Regions from separate parts of the Homo sapiens genome. Here regions 1 and 2 are each linked to region 3. The links are contacts of gene promoters, found by promoter capture Hi-C in blood cells and fetal thymus (Javierre and others, 2016). All regions are on one chromosome and are shown on one strand. Each heading gives the region's core, a stretch centred on a gene start or on the middle of the fragment in contact. The rest is flanking DNA. Distances are from core to core; before and after follow the strand shown.

The links. The method cuts DNA at HindIII sites, captures the fragments that hold promoters and counts their contacts. A CHiCAGO score of 5 or more calls a contact.
Region 1: a contact is called between a fragment that was not itself captured here and the fragment with the promoter of LCORL in region 3, in 1 of 17 cell types (non-activated CD4 T cells). The highest score is 8.4, in non-activated CD4 T cells.
Region 2: a contact is called between a fragment that was not itself captured here and the fragment with the promoter of LCORL in region 3, in 3 of 17 cell types (non-activated CD4 T cells, total CD4 T cells and activated CD4 T cells). The highest score is 8.8, in non-activated CD4 T cells.

What each region holds. Positions count from the first base shown.
Region 1 is chr4:13,632,174-13,636,115 of GRCh38, forward strand. It overlaps the pseudogene LOC100288683. Among named protein-coding and RNA genes, the nearest start is that of MIR5091, 6.3 kb to the left of the region's middle. The HindIII fragment of the contact is 1,837 bases long and covers 1,022-2,858 here.
Region 2 is chr4:14,993,421-14,997,392 of GRCh38, forward strand. It overlaps CPEB2-DT (CPEB2 divergent transcript), which reads right to left. Exons shown (of 8, transcript NR_038857.1): 4 at 1,834-1,930. Among named protein-coding and RNA genes, the nearest start is that of CPEB2-DT, 6.6 kb to the right of the region's middle. The HindIII fragment of the contact is 924 bases long and covers 1,551-2,474 here.
Region 3 is chr4:18,019,253-18,023,380 of GRCh38, forward strand. It overlaps LCORL (ligand dependent nuclear receptor corepressor like), which reads right to left and starts at 2,503. Exons shown (of 8, transcript NM_001394446.1): 1 at 2,346-2,503. The coding sequence starts at 2,499. RefSeq lists silencers at 1,715-2,044, 2,365-2,824 and an enhancer at 2,875-3,134. The HindIII fragment of the contact is 12,000 bases long and covers 1-4,128 here.

The sequences.
Region 1 (3,942 bases), core at 690-3,189, 4.4 Mb before region 3:
AATATCACCTTTTTTTTTTTTTGAGACAGGAGAGAGAGTCTCACTCTGTCGTCCAGGCCATAGTGCCGTGGCGCTATCTTGGCTCACTGCAACTTCCGCCTCCTGGGTTCAAGCAATTCTCCTGCCTCAGCCTCCTGAGTAGCTGGGACTACAGGCATGCCCTGCCATGCCTGGCTAATTTTTTGTATTTTTAGTCAAGATGGGGTTTCACTGTGTTGCCCATGCTGGTTTTGAACTTGTGAGCCCAGGCAATCCGCCCACCTCGGCCTCCCAAAGTGCTAGAATTACAGGTGTGAGCCACCAAGCCTGGCCTCACCTTTCTTATAGATTCATATATACATGGCCAAAGGAACAACTCCATGTTTTCTAAAAGGCCTAGAGGACATCTGTCGGGTGCCTCTCCTCTTTCCCTTTGTGTTCGTCATTTTGGCGAATTACTGGAAGACAGCGGTTCCGGCTGAAAGGAAAAGAGTATATAATTTCTAGCAGTAGTTAGGGCATAGAAGAGGTGAGATCTTCACAAAAGAAACTGCCATCATTCTCCTACTCTATGCCTGTCTGAGTTCAGAACATTCCAACAAAGGTCAGGTACTTTCTCCCTTAACAGGATTGACTCTCATTCTGTTCCCCAAGTCTGATGTCAAGGTGACAGAGTTTATAGTTTGCGAATTAGGGAAGCAACAATAGGTGATGATGGCCCCTGTTACTGGTAGCCATGTGCATGGTTAGGCACCAGATTCCTGACAAATGGTTTTTGTCAGGAATTTCTTTTCCTTTCTACAGTCCAGCCTGTCCCCCACCCCTACCCAATCCTCCAGACTGCTTCTGTGAGCTTGTCCAGTGAAAGTCAAACATTGATCTCCTAACACCAGGGATCCCATCTGATTATTCGTCAGAGTTGTTTCCTTATTTTCTTCCCCTTGTACCCCCATGGGATCCCCACTCTTTGGCATCTCCATTCCCGACTAGGCTTTTCATAATCAAAGGGAAATCAATATTTCCTAAATCTCCATCAACCCAAAGCTTAGTAGAAACTTTGAAAGTTCGTTTTTCAGTGATAACGGAAAACATCGGAGGAGGGGGAGAGGACATGTGTTAATATTATTTGTCTTTCCAATGCAAGCTGCATGGTCACACATATTCTATTTTTGTTGCAGTATAGTAGTGCCCTGTTATCCATGGGGGATATGTTCCAAGACCCCTAGAGGATGCTTGAAACCATGGAGGAACAAACTATACCATGGGCTGGGCTCAGTGGCTCACACCTGTAATCCCAGCACTTTGGGAGGGTGAGGCAGGTGGATCACCTGAAGGCAGGAGTTCAAGACCAGCCTGGGCAACATGGTGAAACTCCATCTCTACTAAAAATACAAAGTTAACCGGGTATGGTGTCACGTGCCTATAATCCCAGCTACTTGGGAGGCTAAGGCAGGAGAATTGCTTGAATCCGGAAGCCGGCGGTTGCAGTGAGCTGAGATCGTGCCACTGCACTCCAGCCTGGGTGATAGAGTCAGACTCCATCTCAAAAACAAAAACAACAACAAAAACCCCAAAAGTCTATACTGTGTATATTATATTTTTTTCTGATCTGATAACCAAGATGGCTGCTAAGTGACTTAACAGGCAGCTAACATACACAGAGTGGATATGCTGGACAAAGGGATGGCATGGTATGGTGCAAGATTTCAGCATGTTTGTCAGAATGGTGCAACACTTAAAATGTATTCATTGTTTCTGGAATTTTCCATTTAATATTTTCAGACCACAGTTGACCATGAGTAACTGAAACTGCAGAAAGCAAAACCTCAAATAAGGCAGGACTACCATGATGGTGGGGCTGCAGAGTGTTATACAATGTTAATGTGAAAAGCGGGTACTGATTTTTCCCTTGAAAGAATTGTCACTTGCCCTAGGGTCAGGGCATGGAAGTGGAGTGGTACAGGGGGACAGTAAGGCAGAGAGGACGAAGGGTGATTCTGGGACATTTGGCATAGACTGGAAACTTCAGCTCCCTGCCAGTCTGGGAGTGTTGTAGGGTAGGGGTGCTTTGGAAATGGTGGCTTTGTGAGAATATATTACCTTGAGGAGCTGCAGAATTCAAGAGAGTGGCCAAGTTCTAGTTGGTGGGAAAAAGGAGGATGTGTCTGGGGCAGCAAGACAGGAGTAATGTCAACTGAGACGAGGATTGGGATACATAAGCCCCTGGGATATTGGAGTAGGAACTTCAGAAGAGGAGGGAAATAGAGTGGTGGGGGGTATTTGGTGAAGTTGGACCTATCAGTCACATTAGTTATTAATACTTTATGGGATGGGAGATTCCTCTGTGGGTAATCTGGAAGACTAATAGTGGTTCTCAAATTTTAGCCTACACCAAAATCTCCTAGAGGACTTGTTAAAATAGAGTACTAGGCACGCCATCCTGAGTCCCTGATTTGATAGGTCTGGGACAGAGCCTGAGAGTTTCCATTGTTAACAAATGCATTTAACAAATGCTGATAGAACACTATATGAGAAACACTGGACTAGACAAATCACGGCCCACAGGCCTAATCCAGTCTACCTGTTTTTATAAACAAAGTTTTACTGAAACCGTACTTTCTAGTTTGAACATTTTTTTTTGTAAGATGATACTCCTTTTATGCAAGTACCATTAATTTTTATACATTTCTTTGCTCATAAGGTTTAAACTCCTGGTAGTGATAGCAATCAGATTTATAAAAGTAAGATTTATTATGAAGTTAGGTAGCCTGTGCCTATTAATGCTACTGAATTGCTGGCTATTTTGAAAATTGAGATGTCAATATTGCAGATGGCTTGAAATGCAAGGTATCTTTTATATGCTTATAAAGATGGAAAGAAGCTTTGCATTTAGCATTTTCCATTTAGGCTTTGTGAAAATTGTTCTTATTTTAAAAATAGCCCTAACATGTGTGTGTCTGTGTGTGTGTGTGTTTCCTGAGTATTCTAGATGGTACATGGTATTCTGAAAACTGAAAGTCACACCTCCAGGAATAAAATTAGGAAAAGCAGAAATTGGAGGGAGGTCTCTAGAAATGATGTAGTATTATCTGAATACCTCAAATCTAATCCAGGTCATCTGGGTAGAAATTCTGGGAGGGATTTATTTAAATATAAATAAAAATTTGTATACCTAAATAAAGATTGTATTCTACATTTGAAGAAAGAGTTGTTTTTTTTTTTGTTTTGTTTTGTGTTTTAAGAGTAAGAGGTGGTTGGCATGCATGTATGAAAGGAAGGAATTCAAAGTGTCTAGAATTGGCACTGTCTCTGGAGAGCATGCATTTGCTATTGGGTGCCAGCCATTAAGATGATCTCATTCATTTCTCCTCTGATTCTGTGATTGTTAAGTAACTTTTGGATCACATTTGGCTTCACATTTGGATTTGCCTATAGGAAGAAAAAGTGCTGAGTAGTAAATATAGGAAGCTGTCTACTTGGTAGTTATATCTCTCCCCATGAATGATTTTTATGCATAAAACCCTAAGAGCTTGGCGAATTTTGAAACCACCCAGGATTCAGATCTATTCTTTTTGTACTGATAGTCACCTCTTACCTTGCAAGACTGCAGGCTGGACCCCACACTATGGTCAACAAATTGAAGTGTTGCTGTGGGGGTCCAGTCAGGGTGACCAGCTTACCTAACATCTAATTTTATTGGCCATATTTTAAATATAAGTTGTCTTGATTACCACTTAAATTGTAGAGAACGAGTAGACTACTAGTAAACTAGGAAAAGAAAGTTTTTCTTGTAGAAAACTAGGAAAAGACAAAGAAGTCTATTGACAACAGGGAATAGGCTGGAGATGAGGACCTGACCCAAGATGGACAAATTAGAACCCTTCCTTGGGATTTTTGAAGGTAATTGGTATCCCTCTCAGCTACATTGTAAGCAGGTGTCTGGAGTCGGTAATAACCAGATCC
Region 2 (3,972 bases), core at 763-3,262, 3.0 Mb before region 3:
TTCAGCCTACAGTCTCACTGTTTATGACTCTGCCCAGATAATTAGGGTTGGGAATTATCATAACTAATGTCAACAGTATTTATTTACAGCCTCTGTGAGGATGTACAGAATAATGGATATATTTTCTGTTCTTTTCACAGTTATACCCATAGTGCCTTGCACAGTGTCTGGTACAGAGCAGGCACTCAACAGAGAGTTTCTGAATACATAAATCAATCAATAAGAACTAGGAAAATTAAAGAACATATAAGGCATAGCAACTGCCTACAAAGACTTGTAATTCAATCGAGTTCACATGGCCTTAAAGATACAAGATAAGTAGCAATAGAGAAGTCAGTCAGTCTACGTAAGGGCCCAGTGAGCATCGTGGCAGAAATTACTGGAGAGGCTGACAGGTTCTCTCCTAGGTGGGGGTATTGGAGTGGGATGATAAATCCCCTGGATGCCACAAAGGGTAACACAGACCTTCTATTATGTTTCGGGGCTACACTTTGTCATCAGGGGAAGATTCTTGATATTTTTCTTTGTCAATGAGTTCATCTTTGTATGGCATAATAACCAGAATAGAGATCGTAATAACCAGAGTGAAACTTTTAGTTTGGTATTGTCAAGGAAAAAATATTGGGAAGGAAAATAACTTTTTTGTCATTGTTATTATGATTATTCATTTTATTTTTTCTCCAGTAAACATAAGGTAACAATGCTACAGTTATCCACAAAATGGCTCATGTCTTTGTAAAGCATGCTTTGGAAACATCTACCTCTTTCCTTCCTTCCATCTCCCTCCTTCCTTTCCTTACCTTGTTTTCTCCTTTTCTTCATCTTTTCTTCTTACAGCATTCATTGGGCAATTACTAATCAACAAATACTTATTGGGCACTTGTGTTCCAGGAATGTGAAAGGCAAGGGAATGCGGAGATACATGAAGGAATTACATTTGAGTAACGTTTCTGCAGTATAATTGACAGAGCATGGTTGACAATTGTTTTTGGAGGGTGAGAGAGATGAAGGAAGAGGATGACTCATGTTTCAGCTTGAGAAACTGGTTGTGTGATGATGACGTCAGCCAAGACAAGAAGCAAAATAGGAGAAGCAGATTTTGGGGAAGATGTTGAATGCAGGTATAGACACATTGAATTGATGTGGCTGAAGGACACCCAGGTCAAACTGTTAAACAGGCAGTTGGAAATATGATTTTGACCATGAGGCTAAAGAGATGGATTTGGAAGACATTAGCATTTAGATGATGTTTGAAAACATGATAATAAATTCATCTAGAAAAAGTAGGTAGAAATATAGAAAAGGACCAGAAACATAAGCCTAAGGAACTCTCACACGTAAAGAATATGTAAGGAGAAAGTGAAGGAGGAAATTATGAAGGAAGGTTTAGAAAAGTAGGAGAACTAGAAGTAATTGAGGATGGTACTACTCTTGAGTGCCACATCAATAAAGCACCTTGAAGTTGGTCAAGGTCAGAATGAATCTTAATTTCTACTTTCTCCTTTTCCAACTCCAAACCAGAGCTAATTAGCTCCCATCTAAAGACTCAAAGCTTTCCCATTCTGTGGGGTTAATTACATTTATGGGCATGGGCTCTGCCACAGAAAGAAACCAGCAGCATGGAAGTAAGGCATCCAGTTGACCTTAACTGCAGTGCCTCCTGAACTGGTTCCATTTCTATGAGATGGGGTCTTGACTCCTCTCTTTGTTCAAGCTCCTGTAATGAACCCCTGTGTTCCTGGAGTCCCAACTCTAGTCTCCTGAGACAGAAGTTTTCCCCCTTGTACTCCAGGGTTATCTATTCCCCAGCGTTATAGTCTTGGGATGACTTACCTGTCTTCATGTACTTATCCTATATCTGACAATGCCTGGAATTATTTTTGGCTAGTTTAAGAATCCTAGGAGCATCTGCATGGTGTTTGGACAGCTCCTGAAAACAAATTAACCATTTATAAACAGACCCTTGTATTACTATTGTATTCTTTTAGCTATCATTTCCTAAAATTGCTATTTATTAATTCAACAACCCCTTTAATAAGTGCATGCAATTCCCAACTCTTGAAAGCCTACTATGTGCAAGGCATCGTTGTAAGTGCTGAGGATACAACAGTGAGCAAAACAGGCATGGACCTTTCCTCATGGGCTTGTGATCTCAGAGAGAGGACAGATAAACAGTTCAAGTACATAGTGGGTCAGATGGAAACACAAACACCTTATGAGGAATAAGAAGGCTGGGAAAGAGTGGCGGCGGGGGGTTGTCATTTTATTACAATGGTGGTCAGGGAAGACATCACTGAAAAATGACTTTTAGCAGAGACGTGAGAGAGACATGAAAAAAAATGATAAAAACATGATTAAGTGAGCCCTGTTGCTACTTAGGAGACAAGTATTCCAGGTGTGGGAATTGCGAGGGCAAAGGCCCTAAGGCTGAATTGGCCTGGGCTGTTACAGAAATAAGCATTCCACTGTAGGGAAGCTTTCAGAGGGGTTAGTGGTGGCAGGAGCGATTCTGAAGAACCTTTTGGTTATTAAAATGTTTTGACTTCTATTCTGAGAAAATGTAAGTATTTAGTCAGAGGAGTTGACATGACCTGTCTTCCACTTCAGAAGTATCATCCTGGCTGCTATGTTGGGAACAGACTGGAGAGGGGCAAGATCAGAAGCTGGAATACGAGTTAGTAGGTGAGAGCAACGATGTAGCCTGGTCCAGGCTGCTTGTGGTGAGAATGGGGTGAAGTGCTTGGATTCTGGATATATAGGCACTCCTCGCTTTATTGTGCTCTGCTATATTGTGCTTCTCAGATAATGGGTTTTTCACAAATTGAAGGTTGGTGGCAACCCTGCATCAAGCAAGTCTATCAGCACAATTTTCCCAACAGCATGGCTCAATTTGTATCTCTGTGTTACATTTTGGTAATTCTTGCGTTACTTAAAGCTTTGTCATTATTATTATATCTATTTTGGGGATCTGTGATCATAATATTTAATGTTACTAGTGTAACTGTTTTGGGACATCACAAACCACAACCATATAAGACAATAATTTAATCAATAAAGGCTTTGGGCTTCCCTATTCCCTGAGACAAAACAATATTGAAATTAGGCCAATTAATAACACTCTAACGACCTCTAAGTATTCAAGTGAAAGGAAGAGGTACATGTCTCTCACTTTAAATGAAAAGCTAGAAATAATTAGGCTTAGTGAGGAAGGTATGTGGAAAGCTGAAATAGGTTGAAAGCTAGGCCTCTTGCACCAAGTAGTTAGTCAAGTTCTGAATGCAAAGGAAAAGTTCTTGAAGGAAATTAAAAGTACTATTCCAGTGAACACGAGTGATAAGAAAGTGAAACAGCTTTATTGCTGATATAGAAAAAGTGTGAATGGTCTGGATAGAGAAAATTAAACCAGCCACAACATTCCCTTAAGCTGAAGCCTACTCCAGAGCAAGGCCCTAACTCTCTTCAATTCTGTGAAGGCTGAGAGAGGTGAGGAAGCTGCAGAAGAAAAAAGTTCAAAGCTCGCAGAGGTCGGTTCGTGTTTAAGGAAAGAAGCTGTCTTCGTAACATAAAAGTGCAAGGTAAAGCAGAAAGTGCTTATGGAGAAGCTGCAGCAAGTTATCTAGAAATCTAGCTAAGATAACTGATGAAGGTGGCTACACTAAATAAGTTTTCACGTAGAAAAAACAGCCTTCTATTGGAAGAAGGTATCATCTAGGACTTTCATAGCTGGAAAAGTCAATGCCTAGCTTCAAGCTTCAAAAGACAGACTCTTTTCTTAAGGGCTAATGTAGCTGGTGACCTTAACTTGAAGCCAATGCTCATTAATCATTCTGAAAATCCTAGGGCCCTTAAGAATCATGCTAAGTCTACTCTGCCTGTGCTTGGTAAATGGAACCACAAAACTTGGAAAGAGCATAGTTTACTGAACATTTTAAGTCCACTGTTGAGATCTACTGCTTAGAAAAGAAGATTGCT
Region 3 (4,128 bases), core at 1,253-3,752:
CGCTTGAATCCAGGAGGCGGAGGTTGCAGTGAGCTGAGATAGCACCGCTACACTCCAGCCTGGGCGACAGTAAGACTCCATCTCAATAAATAAATAAATAACAAAGAATATGAGACAGGTTTTAATAGGGCTTAATTAGGATGGAGACTGTGGGAAACAATTCTCAAATATAGTTAGAAGCCAGGGACAAAATTTCTTTTCACATACGATACAATGTAATCACATATTGCAATAAAAGTGTAATACAGTAGTAACTTTCAATGTCTTCCAATTTTACTTGAATATACAAGTAGGTAAGGCAAAAAGATATTCTAGTCCCCTTTTCCATCAAATCCAATGAATTGTGTTTCATTTAAAGTTTGACTATTTTTCAAGTCTATCTATTTTTATGATGCAAAGCTATACTTAATGTATCTAAATAAGCAAGAAGACCAGAAAAAAAAACCAACCAAAATATTCCAAAACATAAAAAGACATCCTCAAATCACTTTGTGCCTTGACAAAACTTAACAGTAATATCATAAGCCAGTGTTGCAATGCTGTCATCCTACCTAATTCTACCTAAATGAGCTCAGTAATTTCTAAATTGGTTTCCAGAAGAGATCTTTACATAAGCAATTATCAAAAACAGCCCATTTTGTATTCAAGAAGCACAAACAACAATATTTAGTTTTTTAAACAATTTATATAAAGAATACCTAGAGGTTTTTTTTTACACTTCATAAACTAAAATCACTTACGAATACTTGACTAAAGCTATTTCTCATCATCTTTCCTTAGAGAAGACCAAAATACATTTTTCGTAAGGGCAAAACAAAAGCAGTAAATTACTTAAACATCACTTAAATGCCCCCTAAAGTAACCTTCCTTTCTCATACATTTTCCTATATTCATCGCGTTCTGCGGTACACATTTCTGAACTGAAATTGTATTAAGTTTAACCTAATACGATCTCTTCTCTACTAGTCAAAAAAAGATCTTAAGACGTTAACCAAATACATGGGAGGCGGGGTCGGGGGTGCGAGGTGGTGCCAGAGCAGATGGAAACAAGGTAAGAGAGTTGTTTTCTTAAGACACTAGGGTTACTCCCCAACTCCAAATGCCAAGATTCACTCGCCAGTAGAGCAAGCTGCTGCCACTATCCACTGCTTACACAATACAACCTTCCTTTCTACCTCTTCCCCTACACTCCCACCCATAACCCCCTTCCAAAACAAACACCCACAACGCGCCCCATTCCATAATCCGTGTTCGCCCCTCTAAGCCCACTAAACCAACCTGCTGGATAACAGCTCTATGCATTCGTCTTAGGCAAAAAAAGAAAAAAAAAAAAGCGACTGCAGCAAGGTCGGGAGTCCCACCATTCCTGTCACCCTAAACAATCCACAGGGTGAGAGCCCCAAGCCCAGAAGTTTGAGGCAAAACGATTCAGATCCAACCAAAAAGAGGGAATTGCAGTTGAATGGGGATGGGAGGTGGGGAGGGCGATGCGTATGCGTGTATATGTGTGTGTGTGTGTAAGGAAGAGTCCATCACATGACAGTGAAAGAGGACCAGAGTCGTCGGGGCGTCCGCAAGCAGACGGGGGGGAGGGTGTCGTTGCCGTGGCAACACCCCCCATCCGTCCAGACTTCCAAAGAGGGAGGAAGAACTTCAAATCCCAACCGTCAGCGCTCAAGCGGCTCCTTCTTAAAGGGGTACACACAGCGCCGCCGCCGAGCGCGAGAGGGCAGAGTTGGGCGCCCCCCGCCCCTCGGACGACGCCCCCGCCGCCCCTCGCCCCCAGCCGGCCCATCAGCGGCCCCCGCCCTGCGAGTGCCCGTGGGTCTCCAGGTCCAGGTCCCCGGGAACTGGCCGCGTCTGCTCACCCGGCCCCCGGCGGCGACAAGGGGGTGTGTGTGCGCTCGGCGGGGGCGCGGACCAGCCCGCCTTCCTCCGGCCGCCCTGCCCGCCGGCTCTCCTCCGCCAGGGCGCCGACCCACCGGGCCGCTTCCTCCGTCCTGTCAGGGTGGACGGCGGGCGACGGCGGGCAGCGACGGGCGCCGAGGAGTTTCGGGGAGAGAGCGAGCGGGCGGCTTCCGCGGGGGCTCAGCAAGCGGGTCCAAACTAACAGTTCCCGGGGAGCCCAAGAGCTGGGAAGGCGAAGGAGCGCGGACCGCGCCGGGCCAGCAGCCCGCAAGACAAAAGGCGAGCGCCGGGGCCGCCGCGCCGCGCCGCTCCCATCTCGCTCCCCCACCGAACTAACCCGAACGGGAGATTCAACTAAACCCCTCAGCCACAAACTCCTCGGGCTGCGACAGCGGTCGCCGCGCGGAGCCCGGGGCCCCGGCCCGCGTCTCTCTTACCTACACAGTGCATGAGGCGGTGGCGCCAAGAGTCGAGTTCCCGCCGGAATCCTCTTCTCTCCGCCGCGCACCGAGGGCTCCGGCACTGAGCGGCGGCGGCGGCGGCGGCAGCAGCGGCGGCGGCAGCGGCCATTCTCTCTCTTCCCTTGTCCATCTGCGTCCCGCGTCACGCGCCCTCATTTACATACGAGCAGCGCAGGCACGAGGCAGGGGCGCGAGCCCTCGGCGCGAGCCCCGGAGCGCGCGCCCCCCGGAGGGGGGTTGATTGACACGTGTCACTACCTTCCCTCTGCCCTGCCCTCCCCCTCCCACCGCTCCCTCAGGGAGAGGCGGGGAGGGAGCCAGAGGAGAAGGAAGCAACCTGCCGCTTCCGCTGACCCCGCCTCCCCACCCACTACCCTCCTCCCCCTCCCGCTGGAGTTTACTCAGGCGAGCCATACCGCTCCCGCCGCCCGCGAAAACCCTGAGCGGGAGCGAGAGACCCGGAGCCCAGCCAGGAACCGGCGTGCTAGTGGAGCGGACTAGCAACGCCTACTTTCTGCCTTCACTACGGGACTCCGACAGTCCGGAGACTTCACTTCCCAGGCTCCATTTCGCCAGGATCCCGAAGCTGAACTTGGCGCCGTGGCGCGTTGCTTGCCGGTCATTGTAGTCCAGAAGAAAGGATTTTTTTTGTTTGTTTGTTTTTCTTCCCCCCCGCACTTGGGTATGCAGGCTGGCCTGCAACTTCTCTGCGCCGCGCCGCTGGGGGGCTGAGTCTGTCGCTCCCTGCGCCCGGAACCATGCGCTGCCCGGTGGCCGGGTCTGACCCGACTGCTTTAGCTTCCTTAGGCTCCGCGATAGAAGGGTGGTGGAAGCCGCAAGAGTTGTCGGCTCCTTGTGGGTTCAGGCTGCGCTTTGCGTTTTAAGTGCTGGAAACTTTCCGGGGTCGCTGTCTTCCTGTCACTCCGCAGGGAAAGGGCAAGCCGGTCATTCGGCTACATCTGGAATAACTGCCAAACGTCCAGAGAGAGATCCCGGAGTGACTTCGGTATTCAAGGCGAAGAGATCTCGGAAAGCCAGAATATTTGCAAGGACTAGGAAAAAGATGCGGGTTTTTTTCACTGAAAATTACTTGCAGGGGACTGGGTGTAGCCGGCTGAAAACTGCAGAAGGAAAATTTTCTTTATAAGCTCCTGGAGGGCAGCGACCCACTGAGATCTCTGTACCGTGACATCTGTCACTCGCTAGACCCTAGTACAGTGCGTGACACGGGATTAAGCACTTTACAAAGGTTAATGGAATGAATTCTACCACGTGCTAGAGAAAATAACTTCTTCAGAGAGAGCTAGAGAGGAATCTTACGTTTAAATACAGACTCCAATCACAGTTTTTACTTTTGCACCAGAGCGATTGTGCGTTTGTTTCCGTATAAGTGCAGTTTATCAAGCCGAAGCTAAGCTACCCAACGTTTGCTAAGAAGTACTGTGTATTTCTGGAAATTTATTCACAAGTCTGTGGGAAATATGTTTAATTCTTCTTGGAAATCTCATAAACTCTGAATTCAGTACCACCTTCCCTGTTTTGTGGCTTATCCTTATCCACCTTCTTTTTCTTCCTATGAGAAAGTATTTCTTTGCTCATTATGACTTCAGTAGTGAAGATGTAATTTTGCATCTTCATAAGTTAAAAATAATAAAGTTTGAACGCATAATCACCTTTTCTAGAACGGTCACAATTGGAGTGCAGGTGAAATCACTAGTGAAGGTGATTTTGGAATTGTCAGTGGATGGTTTTAGTTAAC